Linked DNA regions of Homo sapiens: all the other regions are linked to region 2. The links are contacts of gene promoters, found by promoter capture Hi-C in human tissues and cell types (Jung and others, 2019). All regions are on one chromosome and are shown on one strand. Each heading gives the region's core, a stretch centred on a gene start or on the middle of the fragment in contact. The rest is flanking DNA. Distances are from core to core; before and after follow the strand shown.

Region 1 (4,178 bases), core at 89-2,588, 33 kb after region 2:
TGCTATGATGGCTCCACTGTACTCCACACTGGGCAACAGTGAGACTCTCTGTCATACATAAATATGTATATACACACACATACATACACAATAACTTTAACTTCTGAACTGCAGACTCTTAAGCCAACAGCTTATTTGAAATCTCTGTTTGGATGCTTTACAGGCATCTCAAACTTCATGTATGTCTCCTGTGGCTGCTGTAACAAAGTACCACAAACTTCATCGCTTAAGACAACAGAAATTTATTATTTCACAGTTTTATAGGCCAAAAATTAGTATTGCTGGGCTGAAATTTAGGTGTCAGGAGGGCCACATTCCCTATGGAGGATCTAGGGAAGAATCCATTCCTTGGCTCTTCTAGCTTCTGGTGGCTGCTGGCATTCCTTGACTCATGACTGTATCACTCCAGTCTCTGCCTCCAGAGTCATATTGTCTTCTTTTCTGTCTGTGAAAACTTCCTCTGCCTCCTTCTTATGATATGTGTGATTGTGTTTAGGGCCCACCTGACTAACCCAGGATAATCCCCCCTTCTCAAGATCCTTAATTTAGTCACACCTGCAAAGGCCCTTTTCCCATATAAGGCATTTATAGGTTCCAGGATTAGGACCTGCTAGCTTTGGGGGCCATTTTTCAGCCTACTACACTTAACATGTTAAAAAAAGAAGAGAGAAAAACTCTTGATTTCTCCCTTGAACCAGTCGTCCCTTCCATTCTTCCCCAGTGTTTCCCATCTCAGTATTGATTCAGTTCCTCAGGCCAGAAACCTAGCAGTCATTCCTGAGTCCTCCCTTTCTCTTACGCTTTATATTCGATCTGTCTGTAGACCCTTTGATTCTACCTTCAGAATATGTCTGGAATCCACCCATACCTTTTCATCTCCACTGTTACAGTCCTGCGCTAAGTAACCGTCTTTCCCTGTATAATTGTAGTGGCATCCTAACTGGTCTTCTACTTCCATTTTTGTCTCTTTCAGTGCATTCTGCATCCAGTATCAAGAATGATCTTCAGAAATTTTCAAATCCTGTCATTCCCGTTTAAAACTCCTCAGTAGTTTTCTGCACTTATAACAAAATCTGAATTCTTCACCATGGCCTACAAGATTTTGTATGTTCTAGTGCCTCTCCAGATTCATTTTGTGCCATTCTTTGCCTTGCTCTCTATACCCTAGCCACATTGGCTCTCTTTCATTTCCTTGAACATGCCAATCTATTTATCACTTCCATGGACTTTCCACATATTATTTCCCCCTGCCTGGAGTGCTCCCTTTCTTCCAGTCTTCATTCAAATGTCAACTCTTCAATTTAAGAGGCCACTTTTGACCGTATCCAAGTTTCATGTGTCATTCCCGTCCATGCTGCCTCCATCTCTGTAGGCTCTCACAAAGCACCATATTTTTTTCATAGCATTTATTATAATTTACAATTTTTTTTATTGTAAAATCATTTACATTAGGGACGTTGATTGCAGAAATCATGTCTGTTTGCTTCACCATTGAGTTCTTACCATCTAGTTCATAGTAGGGGCCCCATATGTATTTTTAACTGTGGCCTTGCTACATGGTATTAGATGTCCATTAATAAGACTTAAATTCTTCAGTGGTCTACAGAATAAATTCCAAATTCCCTAGCATGGCATATGAGCTCCTTGTGAGCTGGTCCTTGCTTATCTCTCCACTTTCACTGCTGGGTTATCTTTAATCTCAGTGCCTATACACAGTGTTCCCTTTGCCAGAAAAGCCCTTTCTTTTTCTTTGCCAGGCTAACTCTTACTCCTTCCAGCCCCCAGCTGGGTTAGGCTCAACCTTATCCTCCTGTGCTAACCTCTCTCATAGGCACGGTCACTCTCTGTTGTAATTGTCTGTTTGCTTTTGTTTTCCCTCACTGGGCCATAAGCTCCTTGAAGTCAGGGATTAGTATATTTCTCTCTGCATCTGTTCCCTGCAATACCAGGTCCAAAGGAGGGCTCAATGCAAGTCTATTTTCATTTGCTGTCCTAGTAGGTATCTTGTACTATATGGCAGAGGACAGTACGTTTTGCATATATTCACCAACAGCTTTATTATGTATTGTATATGCTTCATATTAAGACTAATAACTTAGATTTCTTTCCCCCTGCTTCATCCCAAGAGACTTTAGTGTTCTCTAAGTATCGTAATTTTTGCTTTCTAAAAACTCATATATTATTAAGCATGAGCTTTAAAGTATGGCTTAAACTTCAGTTGTAACGAATCTCATAAAATGCTAGCATGCTGAACTTTGACTCTACAGTCAGCTCACTATTGAGTTAGTCTTTCCACTAAAGACAGTTATCTAGTGGGTTTTACCTTGTTTTAGAGTAACTTAGGAAGCAGGGACAGTCATGCCCTAAAGTGAAACCAGTAGAAAACTGGCCTGTTTCATTTATTACCAACATGAGTTTGATTATACTACTGTGACTCTAGCTTCTGAAACAGCAGTTGCTCAAAGTGGGAAGCCTTTTAAGTGATTTCATTCCATTTGGATATTCTCAGAATGATAGAGTTGTTTGCCTTTTCGAACTTGTTTTCACAAAGGTATTTAGGTAGAACTTTCTAACATCACTTACTAGTAATCAGGAAGGTCATTTGCCACATAAAAGGCAATACCTTATTTTATTCCCTGTAATACTTTGTGAGTGTTGGCATTTATTTTTTTTTTTTATTTTTATTGTTGAGACAGGGTCTTGCTCTGTCGCCCTGGCTGGAGTACAGTGGCATGATCACAGCTCACTGCAGCCTTGACCTGCCAGGCTCAGGTGATCCTACCACATCAGGCCCCCTGAATAACTGGGAATACAGGCATGCGCCACCATGCCTGGCTAATTTTTAAATTTTTTTGTGGGCCGGGTGCGGTGGCTCATGCCTGTAAACCCCAGCACCTTGAGAGGCCGAGGCAGGCGGATCACGAGGTCAAGAGATTGAGACCATCCTAGCTAACATGTTGAAACCCTGTCTCTACTAAAAGTGCAAAAATTAGCCAGGTGTGCTGGCATGCGCCTGTAGTCCCAACTACTTGAGAGGCTGAGGCAGGAGAATCGCTTGAACCCAGGAGGCGGAGGTTGCAGTGAGCCAAGATGGCGCCACTACACTCCAGCCTGGCAACAGACAGAGACTCAGTCTAAAGAAAAAAAAAAAATTGTGGAGACAGATGGAGTGTCACTATGTTGCCCAGGCTAGTGTCACACTCCTGGGCTCAAGCAATCCTCCGCCTTGGCCTCCCAAAGCACTGGGATTTACAGGCATGAGCCACTGCGGTCAGCCTGATGCTTGGCATTTAAATGCCCACAGTTCAGCAGCAAGTGGTGAAGAATGGTGGTAATTCCAGTGATTTGAGTAGCTGAGCCATTCTTCTATTAAGTAACTTTGGATAAAACATCATTTCACTCTCTTAGAGAAAGTTATCATCTGTTATCCTTACAGTCAGGTAGTGGCTGTTATGGGATAAGTGTCTGTTTTTGAAAATGATCAAACTAAGACATACTTTCTGGATTCTGCAGTCACATGTGACTTAGGAGCCAAACCTTTTATCTGAAAACAAAATGAAGCCACAAAACCCAGACCTTTTGATAAGATAGCATAAAACCTTCTTGAGTTACTTTTAATCTCATGGGATCAGTCAGGCTATAGATTTTTGGTGGTTATTTCTTTACCCAATTTATTTTTCTATTCTCTAGAATAATAAATTTGTTGAAATGCCCTTTGCTCTCACTTGTCTGCTCTTACAGCTTTCCAATTGTAGCTTCCTGTTGTACCACCACACCCCAACTCCTTACCTCTTGTCTCTTTGGCAGTGTAGACTTCTCTCTGTCATAGGTCATAGCCCTGATCACCCTATAATCGTCTGTTTGCCTGTTTCCCTATTAGACTGTGACATCCTGGAGGGTAGGGGTTACATCTTTTGTTTTTTTTAAGACAGAGTCTCGCTCTGTCGCCAGGCTGGAGTGCAGTGGCACCATCTCAGCTCTCTGCAACCTCCGACTTCCTGGTTCAAGCGATTCTCCTGCCTCAGCCTCCCAAGTAGCTGGGATTACAGGCATGCGCCACCATGCCCAGCTAATTTTTGTATTTTTAGTAGAGATGGAGTTTCACCATGTTGGCTAGGGTGGTCTCGATCTCCTGACCTCGTGATCCGCTCGCCTCAGCCTCCCAAAGGGCTGGGATT
Region 2 (4,411 bases), core at 912-3,411:
GCAGGGAATTCCAGAGCTGAGAGGAACTTTGAGGCCATCGGTGATCATATACCTCGTCTCCAGCTCAGAAAGAGGAGAATTACTTAGACATTTTCTTTAGAGATCTAAAACTTCCCAAAGTCCACAGTTTTATTTTCACACAATTCTAGGCTAACTTAAAATCAGCATTTTTGCATTATTCTTTCATTCAATATTTATATATTTATAATGAGGGGGTTAGATCAATAGGGGATTGGTGAAGTGATTTATGGTACAGCCATTCAATGAAATCTGATACAACCATTAAAAAACCGAAGAAGGTCTTCTTTTTTTTTTTTTGCTCTGTCGCCCAGGCTGGAGTGCAGTGGTACAATCTCAGCTCACTGCAACCTCTGCCTCCCAGGTTCAAGCGATTCTCCTGCCTCAGCCTCCTGAGTAGCTGGGACTACAGGTGTGCACCATGACGCCGGCTAATTTTTGTATTTTTAGTAGAGACGGGGTTTCACCATGTTGGCCAGGCTGGTCTTGAACTCCTGACCTCAAGTGATCCACCCGCCTTGGCCTCCCAAAGTGCTGGGATTACAGGTGTGAGTCACAGCGCTGGGCCAAAAACCGAAGAAGGTCTTTATGTACTAATACAGAATGATATCTCAAATACATCATCAAATGAAAAAAGAAAAATGCAGAACAGTGTACATAATATGCACATTTGTGTAAAAAGGAGGTAAAGGAATACATAGATGTTTTGCCATGGACATGCTGTTTGTGTATGTATAAAACATCTTTGGAAAGATACACAACAAACTGATAGTATAATACTTTGATTTCCAGGGAAACTAGGTGGCTGCGAAGAGACAGTTTTCACTGTGAAATCAAACCATTCACATGCTCAACCATGTAAATATATTACCTATTTAAAAATCAAATGTGGGCACGGTGGCTCAAGTGTAATCTTAGCACTTTTGGCAAGTGGATTGCTGGAGCCCAGGAGTTTGAGACCAGCCTAGGCAACCTGGAGAAACCCCATCTCTACAAGAAATACAAAAATTAGCCAGCCACGGTGGCATGCACCTGTAGTCCTAGGTACTCAGGAGGCGGAGGTGGGAAGACTGCTTGACCCCAGGAGGTTGAGGCTGCAGTGAGCTGTGATCGTGCCACCGCACCCCAGCCTGGATGATAGAGTGAGACTCTGTCTCAAAATAAATCAATACATAAAAATTAATGTAAAAAAACACAAAATGCGGGGACTAGGGCATTTGATTACATCACCAAGCAGATACATTTATTTACTTGTTTATTTCTCAAGTATGGCTGAAAATGTCAGTAAAGAAATAAGGGGCCAGGCGCGGTGGCTCATGCCTGTAATCTCAGCACTTTGGGAGGTCGAGGCAGGTGGATCACCTGAGGTCAGGAGTTTGAGACCAGCCTGGCCAACAAGGCGAAATCCTGTCTCTACTAAGAATGTAAAAATTAGCCGGGCATGGTAGCGCGCACCTGTAGTCCCAGTTACTCGGGAGGCCGTGGCAGGAGAATTGCTGGAACCAGGGAGGTGGGGGTTACAGTGAGCCAGTATCGCCCCACTGCACTCTAGCCTGGGCGACAGAGCAAAACTACGTCTTAAAAAAAAAAAAAAAAAAGAAAGAAAAAAAAAAAGAAAGAAAGAGAGAGAGAAAGAAAAGAGGACCATAGGTACAAAAAGAATTTGAGCGGGAACAAAAGATGGGCCACGTGAACAGACCGGTTATAACAATAATAGTTCTGGTTAACATTTAGCGAGTTACTGTCTGCCAGGCCCTGTGTTATTACGCGATCTCGACACGTATTACCTCATTTAATCTACAGATCAAGTAGGTAGGTTATTATGGCCATTTTCAGGTGAGGAAACTGAGGCTGGCAGAAGTTAATTAATTTGCTCAAGTCTCCATCGGTAGTTAAACGGAGTTTGGATTCTCAGTGAGGGCTGAACTCTGACCTAGAAGTGTGCCTTGCTTGAGAACCCTGGCTCTTCAGGCAGACGCTCAACCGTCTCCCGACTATTTTTCTGCTGTATTAGTGGCCGCTTTTGTCAGTATTTTGCAAGAGCTATCTGTATTTTGGTTACAGGGACTCAGCATAGGGAAGGATCCATCTCGGCAGAAGCCAGGAGTCGAGGCAGGTCAGCGCACAGAGGACAGTGGAATCCGAGGGGATGGCAGGAGATCAATCGGACCCAGAACAGAGGCCTGCAAGGATGAGCGCACTTGATCCCCTCAGAGAAAAAGCCAGAGTGACTCACAGGAGAAAGACAAAGCAACCAAAGCTTCCAGGGTGTACAGGAGGTCCAAAGTCACCAGAAGGAAGAAGAAAACCTGAAACAGCGAGAGCTGGCCAAACGCTGCTAAGACCTATGCAAATAAGACCCACCCACGCTACCTGGAAATCGGGCCTGGGAAGTCAGAAAACAAAGCACATGCGTGCAGGGCTGCACGAACGGAGGCGGAGGAGGCGGCTCCGAGGGAGCAGGTAAGGAGACAGAGAGGGTCGCGGAGGGACGGGTCACAGGGCTCCAGAGTCCAGAGAGGCAGCAGCCGTGCAGCGCGCGACAGGTGAACTCTGGCCTGGGAGGGCAGGCTACTGGGTTCATCTTTCAAACTCAGCCACTCTTTAGCTGGGAAGACTTCGGCAAGTTGCCTCACCCTTCTGAGCCTTGGCTTCCCCATCTAGAAAATGGGTCTAAAAATAATCATGCTAACTCTGTATTGAGCGCCTTCCGTATTCTACTGGGCACCGTATAGACTATTCCTTCCCCAGAGCAACCTTGTAGGAGTGGGATGATTAGCCTTTTTTACAGAGGAAAATGAAGTTCAGAGAGGTTAAGCCATTTGTCCAAGACAAATTGTTCCAAATCTGGTTCCAAAGCCGGCACCTTTCTACTCCCCATTCAGCCTCTCTCACAGGGTGGTTTTAGAGTATCAAATGGCTTTCTGCAAACAACAACAAAAAATCCCAAAAGGCTAGTAACCTATCTAGATGGATCACCACACTTAGATCTTAGCAAGGGCCAGGGCCCTTTGTAAACTGTGAAGTGCTATGGAAATGCCAGTTCTTGGTTGAAAACAATGGAGTGATGCTGGGGACAATTGATATTTGGCGATGACTTGTTCATAGACCAAGGAGATGACTTTGGGGCGGTGTTTAGGATTTACTGTAGCTGAGATGTCCTGGCTTGGGGTGGAGGTGATACATGGCCAGAATCTCTCCCCAGCTGATCCTGAAACAGCAGTGGATCCCTGGGAGAGCAGCACAGATAAAGATCCAGGCAATAATGATGCTTCCTCCTCTTGGACAGCCTTTTACAGTTCTGGCCATGGAACTTCAGAGAAGGTAGGTCTGATTTGGGGGGAAACAGGAGATCTTGACGTGTAGTAATACAAGCTTACTGGATGGAGTAAAGTTAGAATTTTCAGGTAAGAGAATTAAAAAAAAAAAAAAAACTTATAATCTTGCCCCCAGAGATAACCACTGCTAATATCTGGTTGTTTATCTCTCCAGACATTTTTTCCATTGCACACACACTTTTGGAAATTGGATTATATGGTAATATGGTTTTGTTGCTGGTTCTTTTTCGCTTAATGACATTATATCCTAGGTATATATCCATATTAATAGTTTTACCACATCATATTAAAGGCTGCATAATATCTCTTCCTATGGATGGAGCAGAATCTACTTAATCAATGTCCTATTACTGGATGATGACGTAGTTCTCCATACGTCACCGTTAAACCAGCGCCTGGATGGGCATCTCTTTACTCACATCTTTGCAGAAGTCCTTGATGGTTTCCGTGGAATCGATTCCCAGTGGGGGAAATGATGAGTCAAGGTTACATACAGTTTACGGCCTCTGGTAAGTATTAAAGATCTGCTTCTAACACACTCTGGGATTCAGGGGCTTCTCAAAGCTTGATGCAGAGGACTTTGTCACGGCTTTGAAATCAACCTTGACCCTTCCTTTCTCTCAAATCCATTTGCATTAATAATTTCAACTGCCTCATATATCCATAACAATGTTTTGATCAACAGTGAATTACATATGTGATGGTGGCCACCTAAGATTATAATACCATATATTTACCTTGCCTTTTCTAAGTTTATGTTGAAAGACACACGCAATTATCATTGTGTTACAATTGCCTACAGTGTTCAGAACATAATAAGCTGTATGGGTTTGTAGCCTAGGAGCAACAGGCTAGACCGTATAGCCTAGGCATGTAGCAGGCTCTACCATCTAGGTTTGTGTAAATACTCTCTGTGCTGTTCATACAACGATGTGTTTCTGAGAACATAGTCCCATTTTTAGGTCATGCATTGCTTTGTGGTCTTTACTGGGTGCTGGGCTCTAACTAAAAGCTTTACTAGTTTTGGCTTCCTTTGCACAAGGAGAAATAGAGGC
Region 3 (4,252 bases), core at 1,170-3,669, 53 kb after region 2:
GAGGTCAGGAGTTCAAGACCAGCCTGACTAAAAACCCCGTCTCTACTGAAAATACAAAAAGTACCCGGACCTAGTGGCAGGCACCTGTAGTCCCAGCTACTTGGGAGGCTGAGGCAGGAGAATCGCTTGAACCCGGGAGGCGGAGGTTGCAGTGAGCCGAGATTGTGCCATTGCACTCCAGCCTGCGTGACAGACCGAGACTCCATCTCAAAAAAAAGCAGGACTATAGTACCACAAACTATCTAAAAGTTGTAACCTTGATGATTTCCTTGATGAACCTTTATAACATTAATTATTACCATGAACTAATTTTGAAGACCCACAGGTTCTTAATTATTCAGGTCCCTCATTATCAATTAGAGAAATCTACTCAATGATGCCACATTATCAAATCTCTTCAGACATATCAGTGACCCAGGGCAAGGTATATACAAATCCCAAGAAAACCTTTCAAAGTATGCACCTGTTTTGAAGTGTCATTTGTGCAGGATATATTTCACATCCAAATATACTAGGAGATAGAACAAGAGCAGAATCTACTTGCTCTCATTGTCAGTAGACAATGGATATATTGTAATGGAATCCTATGCAAGGCTTACCGAATGGTGTATGAATAGGAAGATACAAAGCCGGTGGAGATTAATATATAAACATACACTGTAGGCTCAAACACAAACCAATCCTGATAAGTCCTTACGCTCACTAAAAGCTTTATTTTAGGAAAAGATCCCACGGGAATATGCCAAAGCTAAATTACATCAAAAAAGTTAAAACTTACAAATTAATTATTAAAGCATAATAAATAAAAGTGATTATATTTTTTTCTCTTCCCACTTAAATTTTCAGTGATGTGCTGTATGTATTTGGATAAGTTATCTTCTAAAGCAATCGAACACACCTAACCCATTCTCTCTAGAATAGAAATTCAACTTACAGGAGGTAAACTAGCATTGGTTCTTTTTAGCCTGTTTCCTTTGGTAGCTTTAATCTGACTTAAGCTCAGCTTCTTCCAAAATAAAAATGGGTACTCATGTAACAATAAGTTAAAATCCAGGGTCATACAATCTTTGCTCTATTTTTATTTTTTATTTTTTATTTTTTTAGATAGAGTCTCACTCTGTCACCCAGGCTAGAGTGCAGTGGTGCCATCTTGGCTCACTGCAACATCCACCTCTCAGGTTCAAGCGATTCTCCAGCCTCAGCCTCCCTAGTAGCTGGGATTACAGGCATGTGCCACCATGCCCAGCTAATTTTTTATTTTTAGTGGAGATGAGGTTTCACCATGTTGGCAAGGCTGGTGTTGAACTCCTGACCTCAAATGATCTGCCCACCTTGGCCTCCCAAAGTGCTGGCATAACAGGCATGAACCACCATGCCAGGCCAAATTTACAAATTATTTGTAAAGAAGAATACTGTCTAAATCTGTTTTGTGTGGCTATAACAGAATACCTCAGGCTGGGTAATTTATAAAGAAAAGAGGTTTATTTGCCTCATGATTCTGGTGACTGGACAGTCCAAGAGCATGGTGCCAGCATCTTTGGGGCTTCTGGCAGAGAAGCAGAAAGGCAAGTGGGCATGTGCAAAGAGACACGGGCTCACTTTATAGCAACCCAATCTTGCAGGAACGAATCCATTCCTATGAGAGCAATAACTCACTCACTCCTGAGAGTGGACATTAATTTACTCATGAGGGTGGATCCCTAATGACCCAAATGCCTACCAGTTCTCACCACCATTACAAATACTAACCAAAAAAATCTGAATATATAACTCAGGGACAGAACTGAAATACAAACAATAAAAAAACCCTTAGGATTCCTTTTTTTTTTTTGAAGTTTTTTTTTTTTATACTTTAAGTTTTAGGGTACATGTGCACAATGTGCAGGTTAGTTACATATGTATACATGTGCCATGCTGGTGCACTGCACCCACTAACTTGTCATCTAGCATTAGGTATATCTCCCAGTGCTATCCCTCCCCCCTCCCCCAACCCCACAACAGTCCCCAGAGTGTGATGTTCCCCTTCCTGTGTCCATGTGTTCTCATTGTTCAATTCCCACCTATAAGTGAGAATATGCGGTGTTTGGTTTTTTGTTCTTGCGATAGTTTACTGAGAATGATGATTTCCAATTCCATCCATGTCCCTACAAAGGACATGAACTCATCATTTTTTATGGCTGCATAGTATTCCATGGTGTATATGTGCCACATTTTCTTAATCCAGTCTATCATTTTTGGACATTTGGGTTGGTTCCAAGTCTTTGCTATTGTGAATAATGCCGCAATAAACATATGTGTGCATGTGTCTTTATAGCAGCATGATTTATAGTCCTTTGGGTATATACCCAGTAATGGGATGGCTGGGTCAAATGGTATTTCTAGTTCTAGATCCCTGAGGAATCGCCACACTGACTTCCACAATGGTTGAACTAGTTTACAGTCCCACCAACAGTGTAAAAGTGTTCCTATTTCTCCACATCCTCTCCAGCACCTGTTATTTCCTGACTTTTTAATGATTGCCATTCTAACTGGTGTGAAATGGTATCTCACTGTGGTTTTGATTTGCATTTCTCTGATGGCCAGTGATGGTGAGCATTTTTTCATGTGTTTTTTGGCTGCATAAATGTCTTCTTTTGAGAAGTGTCTGTTCATGTCCTTTGCCCACTTTTTGATGGGGTTGTCTGTTTTTTTTCTTGTAAATTTGTTTGAGTTCATTGTAGATTCTGGATATTAGCCCTTTGTCAGATGAGTAGGTTGCGAAAATTTTCCTAACCTTTAATCTATGATAAAATCTACCTAAAATATTTTATTTACCAAGTTGAGCTTATAACTAGGGTAGAAAGATTAGAATTACTGTGGCCGGGTGTGGTGGCTCACGCCTGTAATCTCAGCACTTTGGGAGGCCAAGGTGGGTGGATCACCTGAGGTCAAGAGTTCGAGACCAGCCTAACCAACATAGTGAAACATCATCTCTACTAAAAATATAAAATTAGCTGGGCATGGTGGTGCGTGCCTGTAATCCCAACTACCTGGGAGGCTGAGGCAGGATAATTGCTTGAACCCGGGAGGTGGGGGTTGCAGTGAGGGAAGGTCCTGCCATTGCACTCCAGCCTGGGCAATGAGAGCAAAACTCCATCTCAAAAAAAATAAAAAAATAAAAAAAAAACAAAGAAAGATTAGAATTACTGTACTGCCCTTTCATTTACTTTTTTTTTTTTTTTTTTGCCAATTGAGGTATACTAGTTTTCTTTAACAGAATTCAAAATCGTTCAATACTGGAGAATCATCTTTGCAATACTGGAGAATCACCTTTGCATTAGAATAACGGAGTGACAGGACTTAACTACCTAACTGGAACACATCTGTAAAAAGAATTTGGAAGGTGAAGGTGAATTTTAAAAGAAAAAGAAGGTGATCTGATTGTATGTCCTGGGAAAGTTACTTAGCCTTTCTGGAGCTGGTTTCCAGCCTGTACAACTTGGAGGATTCTTGGGAGGATTATATGAGATAACATACATAAAGCATCTACCAAAGTACCTGATAAATGGCAGCTATTATCATTATGTGGAATATTAGGGGATAAAAGAACTTGAGTAGGGAAAATCCAATGAGTGAACTTTGTGGGAGAAGGCATTAATCAAAATATTAGCTGGGTTTCTCTCCTCACTTGACTTTATTAAGACAACCCTTGACTTGTCTGTTAGCTTCTCTCCTACAAAGTATTTGCGTCAAGACTACTTTCAAGCCTGCGCACAGTGGCTCATGCCTATAATCCCAGCACTTTGGGAGGCCAAGGTGGGAGGATCACTTGAGGTCAGGAGTTTGAGACCAGCCTGGCCAACATAGTGAAACCCCATCTCTACTAAAAAATTACAAAATTACAAAAATTAGCCGGGTGTGGTGGCGGGCACCTGTAATCCTAGCTACTTGGGAGGCTGAGGCAAGAGAATCACTTGAACCTGGGAGGCCATGTTGCAGTGAGCTGAGACTGCACCATTGCACTCCAGCCTGGGCAACAAGAGCAAAACTCTGTTTCAAAAAAAAAAAAAAAAAAAAAAAAGGACTGCTTTCAAGTATCTTTCTGCCTGTCCTGATTTCCTGAGACCATGAAGTGGCTATGAACACTCATGTGAATAGTTCATAAGAGCTCTTCCTTCTAGCACAGAAATCTTGGATTTTTGTTTGTTTGTTTGTTTGTTTTTTGAGACAGAGTCTCTGTCACCCAGGCTGGAGTGCAGTGGCACAATCTCAG

The links. The method cuts DNA at HindIII sites, captures the fragments that hold promoters and counts their contacts. A contact is called where the count stands out against the background at its distance.
Region 1: a fragment that was not itself captured here is called in contact with the fragment with the promoter of RNF183 in region 2 in 1 of the 25 tissues and cell types used here (liver).
Region 3: a fragment that was not itself captured here is called in contact with the fragment with the promoter of RNF183 in region 2 in 4 of the 25 tissues and cell types used here (aorta, liver, ovary and 1 more).

Annotation. Positions count from the first base shown.
Region 1 is chr9:113,267,733-113,271,910 of GRCh38, reverse strand. All of the region lies in intron 3 of CDC26 (cell division cycle 26), which reads left to right. Among named protein-coding and RNA genes, the nearest start is that of CDC26, 5.8 kb to the left of the region's middle. The HindIII fragment of the contact is 5,691 bases long and covers 1-4,178 here.
Region 2 is chr9:113,301,126-113,305,536 of GRCh38, reverse strand. It overlaps RNF183 (ring finger protein 183), which reads left to right and starts at 2,161. Exons shown (of 5, transcript NM_001371237.1): 1 at 2,161-2,481; 2 at 3,224-3,342; 3 at 3,786-3,865. The HindIII fragment of the contact is 15,296 bases long and covers 1-2,836 here.
Region 3 is chr9:113,248,271-113,252,522 of GRCh38, reverse strand. The region is part of intron 1 of SLC31A1 (solute carrier family 31 member 1); the gene reads right to left. The region is part of intron 1 of LOC107987119 (a long non-coding RNA gene); the gene reads left to right. Among named protein-coding and RNA genes, the nearest start is that of CDC26, 25 kb to the left of the region's middle. The HindIII fragment of the contact is 7,964 bases long and covers 1-4,252 here.